Regions from separate parts of the Homo sapiens genome. Here region 1 is linked to region 2. The links are contacts of gene promoters, found by promoter capture Hi-C in blood cells and fetal thymus (Javierre and others, 2016). All regions are on one chromosome and are shown on one strand. The core of a region is centred on a gene start or on the middle of the fragment in contact, and the rest is flanking DNA. Distances in the headings are between cores, read along the strand shown.

Evidence for each region. The method cuts DNA at HindIII sites, captures the fragments that hold promoters and counts their contacts. A CHiCAGO score of 5 or more calls a contact.
Region 1: a contact is called between a fragment that was not itself captured here and the fragment with the promoter of IFT172 in region 2, in 1 of 17 cell types (naive CD4 T cells). The highest score is 5.2, in naive CD4 T cells.

Annotation. Positions count from the first base shown.
Region 1 is chr2:27,370,365-27,377,236 of GRCh38, forward strand. It overlaps SNX17 (sorting nexin 17), which reads left to right and starts at 252. Exons shown (of 15, transcript NM_014748.4): 1 at 252-442; 2 at 905-979; 3 at 2,259-2,376; 4 at 2,883-2,947; 5 at 3,497-3,607; 6 at 3,721-3,811; 7 at 3,982-4,069; 8 at 4,325-4,394; 9 at 4,697-4,789; 10 at 5,142-5,345; 11 at 5,482-5,607; 12 at 5,742-5,819; 13 at 5,949-6,023; 14 at 6,115-6,156; 1 more. The coding sequence starts at 380. The coding sequence ends at 6,355. ZNF513 (zinc finger protein 513) reads right to left here. Exons shown (of 4, transcript NM_144631.6): 4 at 6,871-6,872. RefSeq lists enhancers at 1-181, 155-244, 182-1,143, 265-324, 545-634. The HindIII fragment of the contact is 1,155 bases long and covers 1,153-2,307 here.
Region 2 is chr2:27,484,541-27,491,457 of GRCh38, forward strand. It overlaps IFT172 (intraflagellar transport 172), which reads right to left and starts at 5,203. Exons shown (of 48, transcript NM_015662.3): 1 at 5,075-5,203; 2 at 820-963; 3 at 478-590. The coding sequence starts at 5,113. The HindIII fragment of the contact is 7,682 bases long and covers 1,502-6,917 here.

The DNA of each region.
Region 1 (6,872 bases), core at 480-2,979, 120 kb before region 2:
CCTCGCTCCGCGGCTGCAGGGTCCACAGCGCCACCTGGGCTGGAGGCTGAGCCGCAGAAGCGAAGCGCGCAGCCCCAATCGGACTACAATTTCCGACGGGCCCCGAGGCCCCGCCCCGCACTACGGGTTGCAATGAGGGCCAACTCCACTTTGGGCTCCCTATCCGGACAGGTGGCTCTTGCCCTTTAGACTACAGTTCCCAGCATGCCCAGGCGATTGCGTCCCAGAACCGACGTCCCACCGCCTTCCCACATCGGATCGCAGGGCTCCCAAAATGGCGAGTGAGGCTGCGGGGACTCGCTGAGCAGCGGAGGGGGAGCGTGCAGAGCCGCTGCGGCCCTCACAGTCCGGAGCCCGGCCGTGCCGTGCCGTAGGGAACATGCACTTTTCCATTCCCGAAACCGAGTCCCGCAGCGGGGACAGCGGCGGCTCCGCCTACGTGGTGAGGAGCGGCCGGAGCCGAGCCGGGCCGGGCAGGGGCGGGGATAACGGGCCCGAGCCATCTCGGAGCGGCCTCTGAGGCCTGACCGCCACCCTTCGGGCCTGGTCCTGGGCCGCCGACTCCCGACGGCCTCTCTGGGAGCTTATCTCATGTGTGTGATTCGTGCAGTGGTCGCCCGAGCTCCTGTAGGCCCTTAGGCCGGGTCGCTTCCCCGAGCTAGGCCGCAGCTGCCCTGGTGGGCGTCACTGGCCTCTTGGGCAGTGAGACTGCAACACAAGCGTCCGAATTTCCCCCGGACTGGCTCTTCAGCTTTGGGACTTGGCCCTGGCGAAAACAAGCGAACTATCCCTCGGGAGATTAGCGCGTTACTCCGGCGAGTTGCCAGGCAACTTCCGGCCAGGGTTCTCAGGGGGGTTGCGCAGACCGCAACCCTAAAATGCTTGACTACTTTTGTGTCCTCAGGCCTATAACATTCACGTGAATGGAGTCCTGCACTGTCGGGTGCGCTACAGCCAGCTCCTGGGGCTGCACGAGCAGGTGGGACTAGCACCCCTGCCTTGAGACAGCTTCAAGCCCTTCCCTACACGTGGACATCAGTGTCTCCCTTTACCCGCTCTTCTTGTTCCCGTAGGCTGTAGTTCCCCTTTAATCACTGCCACAGGGTAGGGCCCTGGTTTATCTTGTCTGACATTTCCGGGAACTCCCTAAGAAGCTTAATGTCCGCGCAACAACTGCTCCTTCCTGTTCTTATATTCTGGTTTTCTGTCCAGTCTTACTGCTCTAGTAGCCTTTACCCCTGCATGGACAAACCAACCCCTCCCCCCACTACCTCCACCCAGGCTGTCAAAGCACATTCCTTCTGTCATCTGAGCGGCAACTTGAAATTCTTTTCCCTGCTTATACAAACGATTCACCGATTTCCTTTTGTGTTCTTCGGCTCATTTCAGTGTGTTTAGCTGTGCCAATTATCGTTATGTATCTGTGATGCAATGTTTCTCCTCCTTCCTTACCAGATCTTAAACTCTATTTAACTCAGTAGAGCTCCACTGATAATTAGTTGTGCAACCCTGAACAAGTTACCTGATATCTTTTTTTGGGACGGAGTTTCTCTCTTGTTGCCCAGGCTGGAGTGCAGTGGCACGATCTCGGCTCACTGCAACCTCTGCCTCCTGGGTTCAAGCGATTCTCCTTCCTCAGCCTCCTGAGTAGCTGGGATTACAGGCGGCTGCCTCCACACCCAGCTAATTTTTGTATTTTTAGTAGAGAGGGGTTTCACTATGTTGGCCAGGCTGGTCTCAAACTCCTGACCTCAGGTGATCCACCCACCTTGCCTCCCAAAATGCTGAGATTACAGGCATGAGGCCTGTAGAAACTGATTTCTTTGGGCCTCAGTTTCTACAACTGAAAGATGGATTCTTTGATCTGCAAAGTCCCTTTAAGTCCTAAGATATTTTGTGAACAGACTTAGCTATTAACTGTGCACTTTATAAAGCCCTTTCCTTCCTTTAAGGGTTCAGTGAACAGTCTTGCTAGGTGGTCAAGGGGCTCCCTATAGGTCCTGGCCCAGTACAAATCCTCCCCGTACTGTGGAGGGGCTGACTTGTACACAGTAAAATAGAGCACAACTTATATCTAGGACAGCTCCCTTGAGGTGCTACCGCTGTCAAAGGAATTGTTTCTCAGATGACCAGGGTAGACAGGGGAACAGGGACTGAGGGAAGGGAGGGGCACCCAAGAGAACATTATGAGCATATGTAGATTGCCTCATCTCATTTTCTGTGTTTATGTGAAGGGTTGTATCTCTTTCTCTAAATAGCTTCGGAAGGAGTATGGGGCCAATGTGCTTCCTGCATTCCCCCCAAAGAAGCTTTTCTCTCTGACTCCTGCTGAGGTAGAACAGAGGAGAGAGCAGTTAGAGAAGTACATGCAAGCTGGTGAGTGGTTGCAGGAAACTAGGTTGACTATATTGAGGACTATGGGGAGAGACTTAAAAACAGCTGGTTCTGTGGAAGGGCCTGATTTAATTTCTAGATCTAGGAAGGCTCTTGTTTGATCTGTTATGCAGTTAGCAAAGTAAATAGTGTACGAGGATGTGTAACTCTGTGTACTAGCAAAACAATTTGGGCACTAACATCTATGAGAAATACTAGTATAACACTAGTCTTAATATCAGTGGAGAGAACTTAATTTGTATCTGATGTGCTTTAGATTAACATCATTGTTATTTCCCTAGTTCTATAGACTGGACTCACCTAGATGGCAGCCAAGGGTGGGGCAGGTGAAGAATTTATGCAAACAGTGAGTGAGGTGAGGCCAGCTGGGGGATGTGGCAGGCCACCATCAGCCCAGGAAATGGGGTCGGGGGAACCTACTGAGAGGAGGACTGGGGAGCCAAGAGTGAGTGCTAAGTTCCTGTAATAATGTTCTCTTGTCCTCGTAGTTCGGCAAGACCCATTGCTTGGGAGCAGCGAGACTTTCAACAGTTTCCTGCGTCGGGCACAACAGGTAGGGCTTTGGGTGGGACCAAGATTTAAGGAAAGGACCTTGCTGGAAGGTCATGTCTTTTATTTTTTTGAGACAGAGTCTTGCTCTTTTGCACAGGCTGGAGTGCAGTGGTGCGATCTCAGCTCACTGCAATCTCCGCCTCCCGGATTCAAGCGATTCTCCTGCCTCAGCCTCCCAAGTAGCTAGAATTACAGGCGCCTGCCACCATGTCCGGCTCATTTTTGTATTTTTAGTGGAGACGGGGTTTTGCCGTGTTGGCCTGGCTGGTCTCGAACTCCTGACCTCAGGTGATCCACCCGCCTTGGCCTCCCAAAGTGCTGGGATTACGGGTGTGAGCCACCACACCCAGCCAGGCCATGTCATCTTAATAACAGAGGAGTCATCTTTTTTAATGGAATGGAACTTCTATTCTTATGAAATCAAAGAAATCACAGCCTATATTTAAGCAGCTGAGAATAAAGACACACAAGGGACCTAGAAATAGAGTTGGGCATAGGTCAAGGCAAGGGACAAGGCAGTGCTTCCCATCCCCATGTGTGCTCACAACAGGAGACACAGCAGGTCCCCACAGAGGAAGTGTCCTTGGAAGTGCTGCTCAGCAACGGGCAGAAAGTTCTGGTCAACGTGCTAACTTCAGATCAGACTGAGGATGTCCTGGAGGTGAGGCGCTTGTTCAGCACTGCCCCTTCTTCCCCTACATCCTGGGGTCCTGGGCTTGGAGAATGATTGGAACCAGCCAGTATGATGAGCTGTACTTCTATCCCTATCCCCAGGCTGTAGCTGCAAAGCTGGATCTTCCAGATGACTTGATTGGATACTTTAGTCTATTCTTAGTTCGAGAAAAAGAGGATGGAGCCTTTTCTTGTGAGTTTCTCTGGACTTGACTGCAGTACAAGGGTACTTCAGTAGAGTTTGCAGCCCCCCTAACTCCCCACCCCCACCCCCAGAATGAACATTGCCTCAGGGCACTTCTTTCTTGATTTCCCTTCCTTTAAATCTCACTATATTTTCATTTTTTTTTTTTTAACCTGTAGTTGTACGGAAGTTGCAAGAGTTTGAGCTGCCTTATGTGTCTGTCACCAGCCTTCGGAGTCAAGAGTATAAGATTGTGCTAAGGAAGAGGTCAGGGCTGGGCCTGGAAGGGGAGGGGTGGGAGGTGCTGTGCTGGATTGGATTATTGGGCCACATATTGAGACAGAATAATCTGGACAAGGGGGTGTAGTGCTGGGTGTTTCTGCCAGGCCTCCCAAGCTTCCTCCCACTATACCATTAGCCCCTGATAGTTCCAGATTGCTCCTGTTTTGCCCATTTTCCATTCTACCTCTTGCCTTAACCCAGCTTAGCCCCATTACCCCTTTCCACCCCTTGGCCTCACAGTTATTGGGACTCTGCCTATGATGACGATGTCATGGAGAACCGGGTTGGCCTGAACCTGCTTTATGCTCAGGTGAGCTTGGAGCTGCCTCAGAACCCTTCCCCTGAAGAAAATAACGGGTGACTCACTCTCCCAAGAAAACTGCTGTCGTGTCTTTGTTCCCAATTTGTGGGGAAGTTCCTAGAATACTATCAGTGCTGCTGGCACAATATCTACTCTCCCTACTTTTATTAAGCTGACAAGATCAAGGACTTACTGCAGAGAGGTCGCTCAAGTGTGGGGCTAGGGGTCAGGCTGGACAGAGGTAATGGTAGACGCTTTCCTTGGATTGCTGACTGGGACCTCCTACTGCCTGCCCCTTGTCTCTACTATAGACGGTATCAGATATTGAGCGTGGGTGGATCTTGGTCACCAAGGAACAGCACCGGCAACTCAAATCTCTGCAAGAGAAAGTCTCCAAGAAGGAGGTGAGCCCTGCCTCCTCTCTGTCTTCCTCTAAGGGCTTGCAGTGGCGCGATCTTGGCTCACTGCAAGCTCTGCCTCTCAGATTCATGCCATTCTCCCGCCTCAGCCTCCCGAGTAGCTGGGACTACAGGCACCCGCCACGACGCCCGGCTAATTTTTTGTATTTTTGGGAGAGACAGGGTTTCACCATGTTAGCCAGGATGGTCTTGAGCTCCTGACCTTGTGATCTGTCTGCCTCTGCCTCCTAAAGTGCTGGGATTATAGGCATGAGCCACCGCGCCCGACCGGGGTTGCTTTTTCTGAGCTGCCCCATTCTCCCTCCTAATCTACCCCCATGTGATGACCATTTTTCAGTTCCTGAGACTGGCCCAGACGCTGCGGCACTATGGCTACTTGCGCTTTGATGCCTGTGTGGCTGACTTCCCAGAAAAGGACTGTCCTGTGGTGGTGAGCGCGGGCAACAGTGAGCTCAGCCTGCAGCTCCGCCTGCCTGGCCAGCAACTCCGAGAAGGCTCCTTCCGGGTCACCCGCATGCGATGCTGGCGGGTCACCTCCTCTGTGAGTCGGGTTAGGAGGGGGAAGGGCCTGGGTTGGGGGCCCGGCAAGCCTTGAGCTTAGGTATGGGCTGCAGCGGGTCAGGGAGCCAGACAGGTTGGTCAGAGTGAACTCAACCGAATTCCCCTTCCTCTCCCAGGTACCATTGCCCAGTGGAAGCACGAGCAGCCCAGGCCGGGGCCGGGGTGAGGTGCGCCTGGAACTGGCTTTTGAATACCTCATGAGCAAGGACCGGCTACAGTGGGTCACCATCACTAGCCCCCAGGTGTGAACCTACCCTCAGCCCTCCTCTGGAGCACCTTAAAGTGTAGAGTTTCCAGTACTCAATATGGGAGGCATTAGTGGTGCTGGGCTCAGAGTGACCACTCTCATCAAGCTGGACACTCTTCTTGCCCTCAGGCTATCATGATGAGCATCTGCTTGCAGTCCATGGTTGATGAACTGATGGTGAAGAAATCTGGCGGCAGTATCAGGAAGGTAGGCAGCAAGTGTGGACTGAGCAGTGAGCAGGTGTGCTCCCCTTGCCTTTTGTCCTAGATGTGAGGCTTGTCTTGAGAGGGAGGGGAAGTGATCCTGCCCTCACCGGCACCTTGTGTCTGTCCCCAGATGCTGCGCCGGCGGGTGGGGGGTACTCTGAGACGCTCAGACAGCCAGCAAGCAGTGAAGTCCCCACCACTGCTTGTAAGTATTACCTCCTGGTCAGAACCCTGGCTCTCAGCCCTGCCTCACCTCTCCTAGTGAGTTTCTGACACCTCTGCCTCTTCTTCCCCAGGAGTCACCTGATGCCACCCGGGAGTCTATGGTCAAACTCTCAGTGAGTTCCAGCGTTGGTGAGGTTGCTGTTTGTTGGGGGATCTTGCACGCCCAAGATCTCTGACCCCACCCTGCCTTTGTTACAGAGTAAGCTGAGTGCCGTGAGCTTGCGGGGAATTGGCAGTCCCAGCACAGATGCCAGTGCCAGTGATGTCCACGGCAATTTCGCCTTCGAGGGCATTGGAGATGAGGATCTGTAATCTCCACTGCTTGGATGTCTGCCCTCTACCCCAGAGGAATTTACAGAAACTTGCCCTGTGCCTGTGTCCCCCATGCTAGGGGCGGAGGGGTCTTTTCCTTCTTCTTTCCTACCTACCCCTTTTCTCTTGGCCAGGGGCCTCGTATCCTACCTTTCCTTGTCCCCTGGGCTGGCTGCACAGAGGATTGCCCCTTCTCTTTTCAGAGCTGGCCCTCGATGCCAAATTAGCATTTAGTATTTTGCACAAAGTCTAAGGGACCATGGCTGCCTGCCTTGGGGAGGAACCATATCTCCCTCTGGGCCGCTTCTGGCCTCTTGGAGCCATGGGCCAAAGGCCAAGGGGATGGGCAGAGGTCTGTGTTTGGTCTGGCCCAGTTCCCCATCATTAAACTCAGCCTGACTGCTGCCTACCTCTGGTTCCCTCTCACTGCCCCTGCTTCCCCCATCACAGCATGGACTACTATGCTAAGGGTAAGGCCAAATTGCCTGCCATTGCCAATTCAGCATAGACATGGCTT
Region 2 (6,917 bases), core at 3,953-6,452:
CAATCGCGCCACTGCACTCCAGCCTGGGTGACAGAGTGAGACTCTATCTCAAAATAAATAAATAAATAAATACCACTTCCATAAACAAATTGCCAAAAATGATGCTGAGGGAAGAGAAGAAAGAGCAGATTTCTTCCCTGGCCCAGTAGTATTTCTGACTACTCTGTAGGAGCCCTGAAAGGAGGTATATGAGGGAGCCTAAGCAGCTTCAGAACAATAACAAAGATGTGACATCACTCTGGGCTTCCAGGATCTCACAGGGCCTCCTGTTGACCTTGGACTGTTTCCTCCAGGGATGGGATTGAAGAACACGTGGGACAGGTGAAGGCAGAAAAGCAAAAACAGACTCCAGAAAGTCTCTGCCTTCAATGGCCAAGCTTGGCTTCTCATCCCCTGTATTTCCCCTCCCCAGTGAGGCATTTCTCTTGCCTTCCCCTTCTTTCCTGGGCCATCCCATCTCCCAGTCTCTATCCTCACCAATCTTCTCCAATCTTGTAGACATAGATGATGTTGTCAGTCTGTCCTATGGCAATTTTAGTGGAATCAGGAGAAAAAGCCATGCCCTTCACCATATAGCTCTTCCTGCCATACTAAGAGTTTAAAAAAAAAAAAAGAAAGAAAAAGAAGTAATGAGTACACATGAAAGAGAAAAGAGAAAAAAAGGCATATGTGTGCTCCTAAGGGAGCTTGAGGATTTATACTGAGAAAAAGGTGGGGTATGCCATTTCCTATGCTGATGGCTAGAAGGCAGACTACGTCTTTCAAGTTGTGAGACCCCATCAATAGGTTAAATAAGGTACACATGAATACACTGTTTACCTTCATGTCAGCTGGTTTGGTGGAGAATTTATCTCTCCGTTCTCCATGTTCATCATACAGCAAGACCACTCGGTCCACTGTGCAGACAGCAAATTTGGCATTGTTCTGGGACCAAGCCATGCAGGTCACCTTTGCAGCTCCATCCTGTAGAGGCAAAGGGGTAAAAACAAACCCATGTGCTGGTCTAGAATGCCAAAAGCATTTCTAGCTTCATTAATTCTAGTGTAATACTGGTCAATTTTCTTCCTGTCACGGTTCTATCCTCAAAACAAAGAGATGCCTGTGGCCCATGCTGGTCTCCAAGGCCTTCAGATCCTGGACTGTGAGAACAACAGGCTTCTAGAGACTCATATGCAAATGCACTAAGAGGCAGGGTGCTAAGTCAACTGTATCAATGAATCCCTGCAACGGCCTCCTCGTTTCCAGGTCTGCTACTGAAATAAATTCAATTAGTCTGGTAAGTTTTGGTCATTAGCCATTCATTCAATTAATATTTTTTTAGCACCTTATTGATCAAGGCACTTGGCCAGGGGCTGAGAGAGAGACAAAAAGCAAACCATAGATCCTGCCTCCACGTCTAATAAGATGGTGCAAAATAGAAAAGTCCTATTAAAGTATGTATAAAGTACTACAATAGTTTGGAGAAGCCTGAGAGAATTTTATGCTTAAATTATCAAAATTAAGCTTTGAAGAATGAATGCAGTTGAGTAGGAAGTTATCTGAGATGGGAGGAATGGCAATGAGCAAAGGCAAATTCTGGACAAGAAACAGTAATTTAGTTTATTTGAAACTATTATACCTTATAAATAGTAGAATAGACGGGGTAAGGCAGGAAAAACAGGCCAGCTCAGGAAGTCTTTGAAGCCAGGCAAAGGAGTTTGGGCTTATTTGAAAGGAAAGGGAGAGACAGTGAGAGTTCAGGATGGGCGAGTACGAGTTGAGACTCAGGACGAATAATCCCACTTTCTTTTCTTCTTAACTACCCACTTCAGAGAAACCCAAGTTAGAAGTTATCTCCAGGTGAATTATTCTGACCAGATCTGACCCTTCCAACACTAGCTCTGGTCCTAAGGGACTAGCTCTGCTACTAAGGGTTTCCTTCCTTGAAAACAAAACATTTTATTCTGCTTTTCTTCTGCCCCAATTGTTTAATTATTTGGACACTAGAGTTCTGGCTTCAAACATTGACACTTTACACTCCAAACTCACCTATCTCCAAAGTCAGAAGTAAAAAGTCTATTTTCCTGCAAATCCTCAAACCAGAAAATAGCCACACCACCATCACTATGATCCTCTAACTCTTCATTATATTAGGTTAGAAGGCCTGAGGGCTCCTCATCAATCTTTGCTGATCCTCCTGCTTTATCGCTTTGCCCAATTCTGGGCATTCAGCCCTACCTGCATCATGACATCATCTTATTTTGAGAGACTGAAGGAGGATTTCATTTCCAATTTTTCCATTAGGGCGGAGAAATTTTTAAAGTACAGATTCAATGGACAGCTTGCTGAGCAATGAGCACAAATCTCTGTCTTTTTATTTTTTTCTCCAACTGAGGAGAGAGCACAACTATCTTTGTTCTAATTTCCTTCTTTTTTTTTTTTTGACGGAGTCTCACTCTGTCCCCCAGACTGGAGTGCAGTGTCACAATCTCAGTTCACTGCAACCTCTGTTTCTTGGGCTCAAGCGATTCTCCTGCCTCAGCCTCCCAAGTAGCTGAGGCTATAGGCGTGTGCTACCATGCCTGGCTAATTTTTTTATATTTTTGGTAGAGACATGGTTTCACCGTATTGCCCAGGCTGGTCTTGAACTCCTGACCTCAAGTGATCCACTCACCTTGGCCTCCTGAAGTGCTGGGATTACAGGCGTGAGCCACCACGCCCGGCCTGTGTTCTCATTTCCTCCTATTGTCCAAATGCCACACCCTCTGTGAAGCCTTCCTGATTTCCATAATCAATTAATTCTCCTTTCTCTACAATATGTACCTCACTAGATTTTTTTATTAAGTGAGGTAGGGAATAAAATAATAAGAGCTTGCCTTTAACAAGTACTTACCATAGAATAGGCATTTTGATAAGTGCTTGACAAGCATAATCTCATTTTACCTCATAACACTGAGGTAGATGCTATTATTATCCCCCTTTTACAGATAGATGAATGGAAGCCCAAAAAGATTAAGTAATTTGCCCAAGTTCACATATACAGTTTGTAAGTGGTAGGACCATGATTTATTTATTTAATTAATTTATTTTTTGAGGCAGAGTCTCGCTCTGTCACCCAGGCTGGAGTGCAGTGGTGCGATCTTGACTCACTGCAACTCTGCCTCCTGAGTTCAAGCGATTCTCCTGCCTCAGCCTCCCGAGTAGCTGGGATTACAGGCATGCGCCACCACATCTAGCTAATTTTTGTATTTTTAGTAGTTTCACCACGTTGGCCAGGATGGTGTCGAACCCCTGACCTCGGGTGATCTGCCTGCCTCGGCCTCCCAAAGAGCTTGGTTTACAGGCATGAACCACTGCGCCTGGCCTAGAACCATGATTAAATCCATGTATGTGTAAATCCATAAACCATAATCCCAATTTCTTTATTAAGGTACCCCAGTACATATTACACACTCAGTTATGGAACATCTTATTTATTTTTAAGACACAGCCTCACTCTGTCACCCAGGCTGGAGTGCAGTGGTGTGATCACGTCTCACTGCAGCCTCGACCTCCTGGGCTCAGGAGATCCTCCCACTTCAGTGACCCCAGCAGCTGGGCCTACAGGTGCTTGCCACCACACGAGGCTATTTAAAAAAAATTTTTTTTTTTTGGACAAAGTCTCACTCTTGTCCCCCAGGCTGGAGTGCAGTGGCACGATCTCGGCTCACTGCAACCTCCACCTCCCGGGTTCAAGCGATTCTCCTTCCTCAGCCTCCTGAGTAGCTGGGATTACAGGCGGCTGCTGCCACGCCCGGCTAATTTTTGCATTTTTAGTAGAGATGGGGTTTCACCATGTTGGCCAGGCTGGACTTGAACTCCTGACCTCAGGTGATCCGCCCGCCTCGGCCTCCCAAAGTACAGGGATTACAGGTGTGAGCCACCGCACCTGGTCAAAATTTTTTTGTAGAGGTCTTGGAATCTTGGGCTCAAGTGATCCTCCCACCTTGGCCTCCCAAATTGCTGGGATTACAGGTGTGAGCCACTGGGCCTGGCCAGACATCTTATTCTTATTAGCTTTGTATTATTCTGTCCTTTGAATTTTGAATGTCCTTTCCTCTTGTCTATCAATTTTTCACACTGCTTTTCAGTTTACAATGCTCTTTTGTGTATATTACTCTATATAACTCTTCCCCAAGTCCCCTAAAGTTGCTATTAGTACTCATGTTTTTTCAAATGAAGAAGTTGGTGAGTGCTCCGAGACATTGTATAATAAAGGCTAAAGTTAGAGATATCAGGTCATTTGTTTAAAGTACTGGTGGCCAGTCTGGGCAACATGGGGAAACCTCGTCTCTACAAAAAACAAAAACAAAAACAAACAAAGAAACAAAAAATTACCCGGGCGTGCTAGCGCACGTCTGTAATCCCAGCTACTTGGGAGGCTATGGCAGGAAAATCCCTTGAACCCGGGAGGCGGAGGTTGCAGTGAGATCGAGCCACTGCACTCCAGCCTGGGCAACAGAGCAAAACTCTGTCTCAAATAGTTAAATAAAGTAGTGGTTGACCTGAAATAAGGACAAGGTAAGAAATTTTAAAAAGAAAATAAGAAAGTAGTGGTGGAGCTAGGACTTAAATTCTGGTGTGCTAACTCCAAAGCCCACCCTTTCTTCACCATGTTTCAGGGCTCCTCCCCTAGTGCCCAGCCTCTCCTGAATCAGAATACACGGTTCGGTCTTTGCACTCCCCCTTCAGGGCTTGCACCTAAGGCGCTTATTTAATTATGGGCACATGCATACTCGCTGCTTACATGTGCACCTCACCCTCTAATACGAGCCTCCTGAAGGGAGGGACATAAGTCGGGTGGTTTGGGATTCCTACGAACCCCAGCATGGGGCCTGTACACAACTGATGTGAATGAAATGTAAGGAAAGCTACAAGTCCTTAGCCCTGCATCTCGCCTCCTGGACGCTGTATCGACAGGCCAAGATCCAGATCATCGCTATATCCCTTACAGCCTTCTGCACACAGTAGGAGGTCAACATCATTAAACTTCAGTTCCCCCACTTTTCTTGGAACATAAAGCATAAGGGGGAGGGACTGGCACGCAATTCCTCACCTGAGGGCTCAGCAGGGTCCTCAGGTGCTTCAAGTGCATGACGCACACCTGTCTTTCAGATGCTCCTAGACAGCGACAACTCCCGTGGTTACCTGGACAACCCGCCACGCAGCCGCAGCGACAGGCACTGACGCTTATGCGACCGGAGCGCAACACGCGTCGCAAGGTCACACGTAACTTTGCGGCGAAGCAAACAGAACGTGCGCAAGCGCGGTGAGATCTAGGGCGGGCCCTTGAGAGGGCTTCATGAATGTTCTCCTTGACCAATCCCGTCGCCGCATGCAAACTCAAGACCAAGCCCCGCCCACAAGCCTTCAGCCAGCCCCAGGTCCTACGTCATAGCGGTCCGTCTCGCTCTTCGATGTACCTGACTTTCTGAGTGCACTCTCTTAATCCTCACAACTCTGGAGGGAAGCAGGGCGGTTTCCATGATAGGCCTTCTGCAGTTGACGGAATTGTACCCAAATAGGTTACATGATTTGCACGGGATCGCAAGGCTAATAACGATAGCTAACGATGAATACTCAGTATGTGTCTGCCAGGTACTGTGTAAAGTATTGTACGTGCATTTATATCATTTAATCCCAAAACCACCTTTTGAAGGGGATAGCGTTATTATTAGTCTCATTTTACATAACAGGAGACTCAGGGCACTTGCTCAAACTAACACAGCCAGCGAAGGACTTGGAACTGGAGTTCAACCCAGAGTTAGTAGCTTTAAACAGCTTTTATGTTCCTTCTCAACTCCTAGCTCGCTCTCTCCATGCCACGATACTATAACCTGTCACATTCCCATCCCAATAAATGACATTTATTCTCAGAATCTGGAAGATGAGTGTTTTGGAACTAGCTGCCAAAGAAACGTAAGGTACCCTACTTCCTAATTGGGTAATGGTGGGTTAAAGACTGCTGTTTACATTGGAATGTTTTTATGGTTCAGTTTGTTGTTGTTGTTGTTTTGAGACAGAGTTTCACTCTTGTTGCCCAGGCTGGACTGCAATGGCGCGATCTTGGCTCACTGCAACCTCTGCCTCCCGGGTTCAAGAGATTCTCCTGCCTCAGCCTCCCAAGTAGCTGGGATTACAGGCATGTGCCACCACGCCCGACCAATTTTGTATTTTTAGTAGAGACAGGGTTTCTCCATGTTGGTCAGGCTGGTCTCAAACTCCCGACCTCAGGTGATTTGCCCGCCTTGGCCTCCCAAAATGCTGGGATTACAGGCGTGAGCCACCGTTCTCGGCCTGTGGTTCAGTTTTGAGGGCAGACCTGACTTGGCTCACCCGATAGGTTGTCTTGTGATACCTGGGGTTAGAGATTGGTTAAGTAGAAAAGAGACTGACTTGTTGATCTTTGGAGTCCCGTTCAGAATTTTTGGCCTATCTTCTAACATACCAGAGAGATTGAAATGCAGAAAGGAGTTATTCATAAGCCTGCTCTGAAATGATCCAAAGTTGGGAAGATCTGTAACTCTCCAGGAAGTGTAACATATGCTCTCCAGACAGACTGTGGGTCCAGAAGCCTTCCCCCACAGTGGTTTGCAAGTGTCAACAGGTGTTTGTCTCATGGCCACCAACCACCCCTTAGAAAATAGGAAAGAGCAGAGGACAGCCCCTATTTTCACAGGAAACAAGTAGGCCTCAGAGCTCAAATGAGAATTATTTTGACAGGGGAGTCCCAACCCCTCAGTTTTATTTTCAGAATCCTCCTCTGGATATGGTGGCAGAGCATGAATATAAACTCATTTATGAATTACAGTTATTACTGACTTTGACTGACTAAACAGAGACAGAGATGAAAGGGAATGCAAAAGAGGGAAGAACAGACACAGGAACACATAGGATAG